2 separate regions of the Homo sapiens genome follow, and region 1 is linked to region 2. Evidence: promoter capture Hi-C in 16 types of primary human blood cells and fetal thymus (Javierre and others, 2016). All regions are on one chromosome and are shown on one strand. Each heading gives the region's core, a stretch centred on a gene start or on the middle of the fragment in contact. The rest is flanking DNA. Distances are from core to core; before and after follow the strand shown. Region 1 has its middle 100 kb from the start of ATP5MC3. Region 2 holds the start of CHRNA1 (cholinergic receptor nicotinic alpha 1 subunit).

Evidence for each region. The method cuts DNA at HindIII sites, captures the fragments that hold promoters and counts their contacts. A CHiCAGO score of 5 or more calls a contact.
Region 1: a contact is called between a fragment that was not itself captured here and the fragment with the promoter of CHRNA1 in region 2, in 1 of 17 cell types (M2 macrophages). The highest score is 5.0, in M2 macrophages.

The regions. Positions count from the first base shown.
Region 1 is chr2:175,280,971-175,286,299 of GRCh38, reverse strand. No RefSeq gene overlaps it. Among named protein-coding and RNA genes, the nearest start is that of ATP5MC3, 100 kb to the right of the region's middle. The HindIII fragment of the contact is 1,039 bases long and covers 2,002-3,040 here.
Region 2 is chr2:174,759,708-174,765,778 of GRCh38, reverse strand. CHRNA1 (cholinergic receptor nicotinic alpha 1 subunit) reads left to right here and starts at 1,307. Exons shown (of 9, transcript NM_000079.4): 1 at 1,307-1,427. The coding sequence starts at 1,385. RefSeq lists an enhancer at 807-1,306 and a silencer at 3,604-3,898. The HindIII fragment of the contact is 3,214 bases long and covers 1-2,317 here.

The sequences.
Region 1 (5,329 bases), core at 1,272-3,771, 520 kb before region 2:
TAATAAAGGTGACTGAAAAGGTTGAGAATCAGAGGGAGCCATTATCAAGGCAGCTCCTATGCAGGAAATAGCAAGAGCCCATGACAGCAGTGGTTGCAGTACAGAGCTCTGTGATGGCAGTTTATAGCTGAATGAGTTGAAATTCCTCAATCACACCACATAAATAAGATGTGTGATTCAAACACTAAGAAAGATAGTAGAGAGACTACCCTCTACACACACACATACAAGAAAAAAAACCTTTGAGCCACACATAGAATACAACCTTTTAAAATATAGCCACTTTTAGGCAGGTTTTCTCTAATATGGCTATTCGCGTCCTGTACTATTAGAGGTTGGCTGTTTATTGTGGCAACTGCAACTTACTTTTAAAATATATCATAGTATCTTCATCTTTACTTAAGATTGTAAGCAGAAATTGAAGTGTAGACATATATTTAGCTTGTAGAATCTATTCTTAAAACTTCCAGCCATTTTCCTATATATGTGTGTCAATATATTTCAACCTCCTACTCCCAACTCTGAAATTGTTAGGGCTAATAAATTACCTTAGGATGTTGTCTTAGACATGTTCGTTTCTACCCAGTGTTATGCTGGGCCACTTTTCTTTTATGAAAACATGATCTACAGTTCAATAACACACTTAGTCCAAGCTATTCGAGTCCCAAGGCTAGTCTGTATGGAGGGAAGCGGAACGTTTTAGATGAAATGGGATATTAAAGTTTTTAAATAAAAAGGACTAAGCTTTTTTTATTTAAAAAACTCCTTCACATGTGCTCCTTAACAATAGAAGAATATGGATCATAGCATTCTAGCTCTGTTTTTAAAACAACATAATACATAACCATGTAATATTACAAATAACACAATTTTTCATGTGTCACTTCCTTCCAAGACAGTTTGAGCTTTGATAAATTTTAATTGATATAAGTTAATCTCATATAATTAATGTAGATTTGCTGTAAGAATTAAATGCATAATTAGAATTTCTCTACTAAATGCAGATTCATTTGCAAACTCTTTTGAAATATATTTGGAAATGCATACTGGCAGCAGGATAGATTTTTGAACCTTAGAAATATAAATGCATTCTTTAATTACAATAAATTACCATGATTTTATATAGTCAATATGTAATTAATAAATACACTTAAGTTACTTTATTTAGGAAAAGTTTAATGCCTTGAGAGAAAAGGAGATAAGTCATTGGGCTGTGAGTTAGCAAGAAAACCTGAAAAAGAATGAAACCTCCTGAACCATGTGGCTCCCTCTTCTTTTAACAGAATTTCTAGCAATGAAGTGCTTGGAGACTCTAGTTTGAGTTCTAAGTCCCGCATTTCCAACATGTGAACCTGAGCGAGCCACGTATCTACCCCAAGCCTCAGTTTCCTCATTAGTCAAGTAGCCTATTTCATGATAATCCTGTCAAGATCAATAGAGATCTGTAGGGCAGAATTATAAGCAAGTATTATCATCACAATTATTGTATGTAATACACTTCTACTCATTTTGTAGCTACCAGTTGCTGTATCAAGGTATAGTTAAATTTGGATAGTGATAGCCACCATTTATTAAACACTATGCATCAGATATTGTGCTAAATGTTCACATATGCCATCTCATTCATTTTTTACAACAACACTAGTATTATCCCCATTCTATAATTGAGGAATCCAAAATTCCATAAAGGAGTAACTTGTCCATGGTCACACAGCTGGTAATTGATGGAGCTGGGATTGAATTGGTATCTAGCTCCAGAGCTGATGCGCTAAACCACCTGGGTAGACTTTCTCCCTACTAACATTGATAAAATTATACAAGCCCTACTCATCACATGCAAACTCCCTATTCATTATTAAGAACAAAATAGCCAGTGAATTCTAAACCTAGGAAGAAAACAATCTATTCAGGTATGATCAATCCCTTTGCTATGCTACCCTCCCTAGCAATGAGTGTAGCGTGTTGGAAGCAGTTACTATCCTACTAGCTAGACTCTAAGCTTCAAGAGGGCAGGTTCTCACTGCCTACTTCATCACAGAGTGCAAGAATACACTGCTTATTTGGTAAATAGTTCATGTTATCACCAAATTCCTTAAAAACATGCACTATTGAAGGAAAATTCTTGTCAGGCTAGTCTTTTGCATTACTGATAGAAGAAGTAAAATTTGGAAGAGGACAGAGACAGAATAGCATCTACTGGGTCACTTGCTGGCCTAGGAGCTTTAGAATAGAGGCATCCCTGCAGCTCCTTAGTCCCAGAGGCCTGCATCTTACATGTGAAGACATCCGGGGTTAGAAATCAATGAAGGGCCTGTACCTCTGGGAGGCAGGGATATGAGCAAGAGAAGGAGGAAGTGGAGAAACCATTTTTCTCCTTCATCCTAAGTGACCGGCACAGCAATAGACCCTGTGTCATTGGGCACACTGGGGAAAAATGTTCATTGTAGAACCCAGATGCCAAAGTGAAGAAGAAACAGAGTGTTTTCAGCAGCTGCATCTGGCTTTTTGGCAAGCTCTCCACACTTTGGTACTGATTATCCCTGCATCTGCTCCTTAATCGTTTCACTAGTTACCTGTGAACTGTTTTACTCACTTTGATCACACATTGCTTGGAACATGGAAAAAGGTGCCACTGTTATGTCTATTTTCAAGCTGCTGTGAACCTTTCCAAAGAAATCAATATCAAAAAACTTTCAGCTGTAGGGATAAAAAGAAAGAAAGAAAGAAAAAGAAATTCTCTATTCTGGACTCCCAGCAGCTAAGCACCCTGATCACGTACACATATAATGATTTCAAAAATTGAGAAAAAACTGTGCCTTATCCTGAAGTTAAGTGCTCCCTTTCTGTAAATGAGAATAGGGTTCAAAGGGTTAATCCAGTGGCCACGCACAGTTAGGTAGGCCCTTCGGAAATTTAATCTACAAGGAGGATTTGTTAAAACTCTCATCTTTAGCAGGGCTTTTCTGCACATCAGAAAAGTGAGATACATTTCATGGCTTTCCCTCTACACATTTTTATGCTACACCTTTCAGCAAAAGCTTTTACAATGATATTAAACATTAACTCTGTATGGGTTAATCCCAAGACACAGCAGCAGCCTTAAGGTTAACAGTCCTTTTAATTAAAAGATAAGTCAGTTATTGAACACAGAAGCTAATCACAAAAGGATTACCACTGAAAATGAACATAGTCTGTGCAATTAGTCTGATAATTAAGACTTAAGTACTGGACAGAGATCAAAGTGCTTGTAATATGCAATAAAGTTCCCAGAGTTGTAAGGATATTCAAAATGTTAGCTTGTGCTTTTATTGCACCTTCCATTTATCGTGTACCCATGATAGCAGCAAACACATTTCCCCGATGGATGTCAGCATGGATAACTGCAACAGCTGTTACTACATAAGCCTGGTGTTTCTCACAATATGATTACTCTGTCAACGATGGCCGTAAAAGGTGGCATCTGCATTCATCAAACAGAGTTATCAATAAATGTAAAACCATACAACAATTAGAAATCTCAAAGGAAGAACAAATCTAACTGGAAAAAAAAATGTCAACCACACTCTTTAATTACTAAAATTGTTAATCAATAAAATGCCTTCATAACTTTTAATTAAAATTTGATTTGAACTGGATGTTTGGATAATCTGATTCTTTGTTTTCATTATCTTTAACAGTTGCATTACAAAATTCTTAGTGGCATCTGTGAGCAGCCATCCCCTGGGGAACACTTTATATCTGTAATTGCATATTGTTACCTACAGAGGGTGTTAAGAATCCTTGTTAAAAATAAAGGAAATAGGAGACATCTCACAGTAGCCATTATTGTGGAACAAATTACTAGGTAGAGCAATCCAGAAGCTGTCAAGAAAGGTTAGCAAAAAGGAGTGTCAGGAAATCAACCATTCAGCAATTCATCATGGGCCAAAACTAGCTCTAAAATAAAACCAAGGAAAAAAGGTATCGGTTTTATGAAGTCAAGACATTGTCTTTGTTTATAGCAGTGAATAAAGATTATAAGAGGTTACTGATGAAGGATAAAAAGATGAAATGATAAAGGAAAAATCAATTGCTTTAATCACACTGATGCTCAGACAAGATATAATGAGAACAACTACTTAGAATTCCAAAAGCTCAATGCTGTATACATTATCTTTAATTTGTGTTCATAAGGGTCTGTGTAATTTATGCATCACCAGCCCCAGGAGTTGACTGGTAAGTTTTCATACCTTCATATCAGTCTCTTCAAGCTGAATACATGTATCACTGTTACTTTTTTTTTTTTAAAGACAGACTCTCACTCTGTTGCCCGGGCTGGAGTGCAATGGTGTCATCTCGGCTCACTGCAATCTCCACCTCCCAGGTTTAAGCGATTCTCCTGCCTCAGCCTCCCGAGTAGCTGGGATTACAGACGCACGCCACCACGCCTGGCTAATTTTTCTTTTTTAGTAGAGAAGGGGTTTTGCCATGTTGGCCAGGCTGGTCTCGAACTCCTGATCTCAGGTGATCCGCCCGCCTCAGTCTCCCAAAGTGCAGGGATTACAGGCGTGAGCCACCATGCCTGACCACTGTTACATTTTTTAATGTCTTTTTGATTTGTAGAAAAACAAAGTTGATCTTGAATTTCTTTCCTGAGTTTTCACTGGGATTTCATTTGACTGTCAACTCCAACCTACATGAATAAACCAGGTTGACTGTTGCTTATTTCACTGCTGAAATAATTAGCAAGCTCTCCTTTCACATTTTTGAATGCTGATACATGTAGAATTTAATACTCAAAGATTCACTCTTAAGGGCTTTTCTTTCCTTAATCTCAGCTTGGTTTCCTGGATTCCCATATGCATAAGAACAATTGAGAACTATAGCCAACCAACCTATCCAGTGTCCTAGCAAAGGCCACTGATGGGGTGCAGAACACACAATCTCAAAATATGGCACCTTGGCATTTGAGAAAACAGTAGAAGCAGGATGGTCACTCTCATCTTCTTCCCTAAAGTAGGCCCTCAACAAATTATCTCATCTTCCAAAGTAGGTCATAAGACAGTCATTTCAGAGACACCCTCCCTATACCTTAGGGAGGAAAAGAATGTCTCTATGAAGGACTTTGAAGACACAGGGAAACAGAAAAGAATCTGAGCAATCAGGCCTTACTAAGTTCCCCGGTTTATTACCATTAGATCATACACCCTTTATCTAATCATACTTCTGCACGACTATCCACTTCTTCATCAAATTTAGCATAAAAATACACAGGTTTCCCTGTTTCTTTGGGTCTTCATTTCTGAAGGCCTTCATGTCACATGAAACTTATATTAATTATGTTTATGTG
Region 2 (6,071 bases), core at 58-2,557:
TGGTAGGTTTGTGAGTCTGAGAACATTTTTCCACTCATGCCACTGGCCAGAGGTCAGTCCCATGGCTCCATTTAGATGGAAGGGGCTGGTCAGAGGGTGGGGGTTGTATTTCTGCCACGGGGCTATTCCATGGAAGGGAGAGAACCAAATTTTTTTTTAGCAAACAGTTAACTGATCTCCCACAGTTTAAACAAAAAATATAAATAGTATGAGCTTGCAGCTCTCTCCTCTACCCTCCAAGCCCCTTCTCTAATGATTTGTTTGGATCCACTGGAATGAGAGGATCTGTCAGGATGTTGTTGTGGGCTTGAGGTGAGAGGACCTTTCTCACCTAGTTCCATGTGGGAAGGAGGCCTGGAAGGAACAGGCAGGGTACCTTTAAGTAACTGTCTCCTTCTGGGAACTCACCTCACACCCTGCAAAGAAGCACAGCTAGGGTAACAATACTTCTCAGACTGAGAAATTACTAACTGCTGGTTTTTAGGATGTTTTTCAAGCAAGATAATTGAAAAGCTGAACCACTCTGCTCTTTGCTTCCCTGAGTGAGAGTAGGCAGAGGGACGGATGGAAGGAGGCAGGAACCCGGAACGACTGCTGATGCGGTGGGACACTTTTTCCCAATAATTACTCTTCGCTTGAATCACAGTGCATAGGACGTGGGCAATTTGCTCCAGCTAATGGTTCGTGTGGGATAGGTATTGCCTGATACAGAGGCAGGGGTTGGAACAGCCACTCTGGGGGCCAGTAAAGCCAGTTTTATGGAAGAAGCTGTCTTTGTTAAAAACCAAACCCAATCAACGTGGGGGCTTCCCAGCAGCAGACTCAACACCAGCTACACTTTTCTGAAATCCAGGCAGTCAGAAAAGCCCCCGGCACCCTCAGCCTAACACTGAAGCAGAGGAAATGAAACTGAAGCCATGTTTGCAGAATGTGGATTTTTGTGGTTTAGGACAAACAGCTGACTATCTACTCAGACCAAATGACCCTAATCAAGTCAACCCACAGAGATGAGGTTCTGGTTTACACAAAAGAGAGGCAGTTTGCTCACCATTTAAAATAATTCCTTCCTTCCTATACATTTTTTTTTCATTAAGATCTGACTACTGGTGCATTTAAAATATAATGCAGTTCATACTCAGCTTGTCAAGGGTAAGCAATTGTGTAAAGTGAGGCATATCTGTAATGGTGTACAGTCCCAGTAACTCCCTGGGCTCCAGGGCTGAGGGCAGCCCAGCTGTCGCTCCCACAAACAGGTGGTGTAAAACAATAGCTCTAGTGAGCCGACTCGCTTTCCAAACCCTCCAGCAGACAAGCACCCAGCCAGAGTGCCAGTGAGAAGCACAGGCCACCACTCTGCCCTGGTCCACACAAGCTCCGGTAGCCCATGGAGCCCTGGCCTCTCCTCCTGCTCTTTAGCCTTTGCTCAGGTAAGTGCTGGGGTCAGGGGTGGGGAGAGGGCTCTCCTTTGAGGCTAAAGTGCTGGAGGCCCCCAAATCAAAGTCTTGCTTCTTTGATGAGACCACAGAATGGCAGAGCCTCCCCAACCAGGGGCTGCTCTGTCAGTTTCTTCCTGATGTTAGCTTGATTGAGTTTTTGGATAAAGATTTTTAGTTTGCCTTATCTAATTAAAATAGAAACTGCCTGGTCAAAGACTTCAAGATAGACACGCATGTCTCTCCCTCCATCATGCCTGGCAGCCGACTCATCCCTCTGAACACTCGGCACCATTTGTAGGACCTGGACCACTTGTGGATCATGGTAGTGTCCGGGGGTTCATATTTAAACAACTATGGATACTTAGAACAGTGCCTTATAATCACATACAATGGAGTTAACAAGTCCCTTTACTGCTCCAGGAGAATTCTAATAATAAAGAGGACTGATTGACAGCTACATGTGCTGGAGATAGAAACCAGTTAATAATCATAACTAAACTCTCTCCACAGAGACAAATATTTTTTAATTTTTTCAAAATTTCTGAAGTTAAAAAAAATTCCATATGAATACATTCCTACCTACTTTTTTTTTTTAAGATGTTACTATATATAGGTTTGGGTTTGAATTGAAACTATAAAACCTTGCACAGCATTTGACCTGCATTCTACTCTGGAATGTGTCCTAACACAGCAGCTGAAACACCATCCTGAATCCCAGACTTCCGCTAGAGGGAAACAGGAGATGTTTGCTGATTGCTTCACATAAAAGTTTACTGGTGATATCATCCCAACTGAGAAACAAGGTGGCTGACATCCTGTGATTTTTCATTTCCAATATTGCTCTGAAAAACACAGGCCTTCTGGTCAAGAGGCAAAAAGCTTTATTATTAATTTTTTTCAATATCAGAGTTGAGTGAAAGAGCCTAAACTCAGATAAATTATATCATGTGGGATTTGGACTCTGTCCAGCCAAAGCTGGCCTGATGTGTGTGTGTGTGTGTGTGTGTGTGTGCGCGCGCGTGCACACACATGCGTGCACGCAAAACCACAGTCACAGGAAAATTCTTAAATGATATGCTTTAATGTAAACATCCTTAAGAGATCTCTTAGGATTTTGGTTATTGCTAACCAAAAATGCATGATTAGCTATTAAAGAAGTATGTGATATGTATTTAGGTCAAATCTCGAGTTTGCTGGCATTGATTTCCATGGGTGTTTTATAGAAATTTAGAGCTAGATCAGGCAGTCCAACATCCTCAATTTTTTATTACAAGGAAACTAAAGCTGACCTGCCCAAGGTCACTTAATTTATACATTTTGGAATGTGGTCAGTTGGAGACTTGGTTTATTACATGCACAGTCAGAAAACACAGCCTGAACTAGCCAAAGGTAGCAAGAGATACAGAATCAGGTTAAGATAATAATGATCCATGGGACTAGTAACAGTTCAAAATTTCTTTTGCCCAGCCCAGGGAGCTATTTCCTACATACAAATACAAATGGAACCAGTGTGGTACAAAAGGAACACTTTGAAACTGTGGTTGAGTTTCCCTTCTTAGAATCAGTCCTTTGTAGACAAAATTGTCATTTATATCAGGGACTCTTTTCCTGTGTTAGCTTAACACAGCGTGATCTCTGTTCTATTTATACAGCACTTTTCATTTCAACTTTTTCTTTTCTTTGCCTCTGGAATCTCAAGCACTTCATTGCCGTCTTTCTTACGGCATATCACTTTCCAACTTGTTCACAGTTATTTACGTAAATGACAAATGTCAATCTCCATGAGGGTAGGAAGAAGGATTCAGTTTTGAATATCTCGAAGCTCCCAAAACAATGCTTTGCTTACAGTAAATGCTCAACAAATATTTCATGAATAAATTAATGTTACCATCATCTGAATAAAGATTACAAATATAATCTTGCTAAAAAGGGGAATTTGACATTATTTAATTTTTTATTTGCATATTTGTTTATTTACACCCTACCTTTTTACAAAAGTATTTACTGTGATTCGTTGAATCCATGAAGAACTAATCCAACTCTCCAGGCCATATGGGAGTTGGGAAGAGAATCATAGAGTTCTGACTTTGAGCCCTGTGAGTTTTCTATCACTCTACCCTGTGCTGGGGAGGAAAAAAGAAAAGAATACCAGTGAACCAATCTAAGAAATGAAGCCCTCCTTCCTTAGAAATTCCTTATGGAAGGAACAGGCACCTTGTTATTGGCTAGGGTGGGAAAGGAGGAGGTGACTGTCTCTGAAATGCTGATTATGTCTGCTTCTGTCATCCTCCCCTTCCTCTTAGTGGGCCATAGGGTTGGTCTGCATAGTTCTCCTGCTACATAATGCTGACCATCTGCTCTGCCCTCTGCTTTCTAATATGTTCTTCCTGTCAAACTGGAGTGAACAGTCATTTAAAAATAAGCAGCCCAAGGCAAGGCCAAAGCAACAGCTTCAAATTCAATGGCCAAGGTGCTCAGTAATCCATTCCAGTCTGCAACTCCACCATGGGATGGATGAGGCCCAGGATAGAAAATGCATAGAGGACAGAAGGATTATCAAGTCCCAGGGGCTCAATGGGGTGGTTGCAAAAACGGAATATTCAAACAACATATTCCCTTCAAGAGTCCTCAAATGCAGGTGGCTTTAGGGAAATGTCATGTGAAATCTCTGCGTGGTTGGGCACTGAGTGCCCTTGGAACATTTTGGGTTCAGAAAACGTGTGAAACTAGCCGGGTGAGGTGGCTCTTGCCTGTAATCCCAGCACTTTGGGAGGATGAGGTGGGTGGATGGCTTGAGCTCAGGAGTTTGAGACCAGCCTGAACAATGTGGCAAAACCCCATCTGTACAAAAAATACAAAAATTAGCTGGGTGTGGTGGTGCGCACCCAGGTAATTTTTGTATTTTTTATAGAGATGTGGTCCCAGCTGCTTGGTTGGGGGAGGCTAAGGTGGGAGGATTGCTTGAGCCTGGGAGGTCAAGGCTGCAGTGAGCTGTAATTGAGCTACTGCACTGCAGCCTCAGCAATAACCTGCGGAAAGGGGAGATCTGGTTACGTGAATGAAGGCAAATGTATCATGTGTCTACTTCCTCTCCCAGCTCTGAACACACAGTCCCCAACCCACGGAAGGCTTGAATTACAAAGATCCTTCATAAGACACTTGGGATTTGGAACACATTTTCTCATAGGAATAGTGGCACTTGCAGTTCTGAGTTTCCAGGACAGCTCACAACACACTGTTAGTACCAAGAATTAGCCCAGAAGCTCAGCACAAAATGACAGGATTCCAATCTGAGCTTTGCCCTTACTGGTCACATGACCTTGGACAAGTGGTCCAACCTCCCTGAATCTCAGGTAAGAATGTCTGCCCTCCTGCTTCATCTGTGGCTGATGAAGATTGAAAAGGGGTGTAGATAGAAAAGGGGGCCGTGGGTTCTGAGAGTATTAGATGATATTGCTCTCTATACTGAAGGAAAATGTAGTAAAGATTCCTTGGAATCGCTTATGTTCCAACTAGGAGCCCCAAACCCAGGTCAACAAAGCACAGTTTTCACTCTATTTTAACAACTTAACTGGGACATGGACCTGCCAGCAGTGATATTTTAAAAAATCGTGGTAAAATACCCATTTCATAAAATTTACCATTTTAACCACTTTAAAGTATACAATTCAGTGGCATTAAGTACATTCACATGTTATAAGACCATCACCACTATCTATTTCCAGAACGTTTTCATCATCCCAAAGGGAAACATCAAGCACATTAAGGAGTCCCACCCGATCCCTCTCTCCCCCCCAGTCCCTGGTAACTCCTGCTCTGCTTTCTGTCTGTATAGATTTACCTATTCTGGATGCTTCATGTAGATGAAATCATACAATATTTGCCCCATTGTGTCTGGCTTCTTTCACTTAGTAAAATGTTTCCAAGCTCCATCCATGTTGTACCATGTGTCAGTACATCATTCCTTTATTCCTTTTTCATGTCTGAATAATAGTTCATCGTAGGGGTATACCATAATTTGTCCATCCATTTACCTGTTGATGGACACTTGAGTTGTTTCCACCCTTTGGCTATGGTAAATAATGCTGCTCTTCTTTTGGGTGTGGACCTAGGAGTGGAATTGCTGGATCGTATGGTACCTGTGTTTAACTTGTTGAGGAACTGCCATTTTACATTCCCACCAGCAACATATGAGGTTCCAGTTTCTCTGCAACCTCCCCAACCCTTGTTATTTTCCACTTGTTAGTTATGGCCACTCTAGTGGGTTTGAACCAGCATCAATTTTGGCTGTTCATGGCATCTTGAGATCTGATGCAGCCAGTCCAAGATTTCATTACACTGCTCTGAAACACTGAGATTGGCTTTTTTGTGGGCTTTTTTTTCGTGTGTGTGTGTGTGTGTGTGTGTGTGTGTACCTGGCAAACTTGATTCAGCCAGGCTGTATGAAGGAATGTCACCTGTCCAAAGTACAAGCGTTGTGATTACCTGGCACACCCCACTGTCACCGGGTAAGGGACCACACCAGCAACTGTAATTGGAAAAACACAAGGCAATAACTGCTGCATTTGGGAGCCTTTCAACAAGGAGGCCTGTGTGCCTTCTGTTAGAAGGAACTGAGGCTTATGCCTCAGTTCC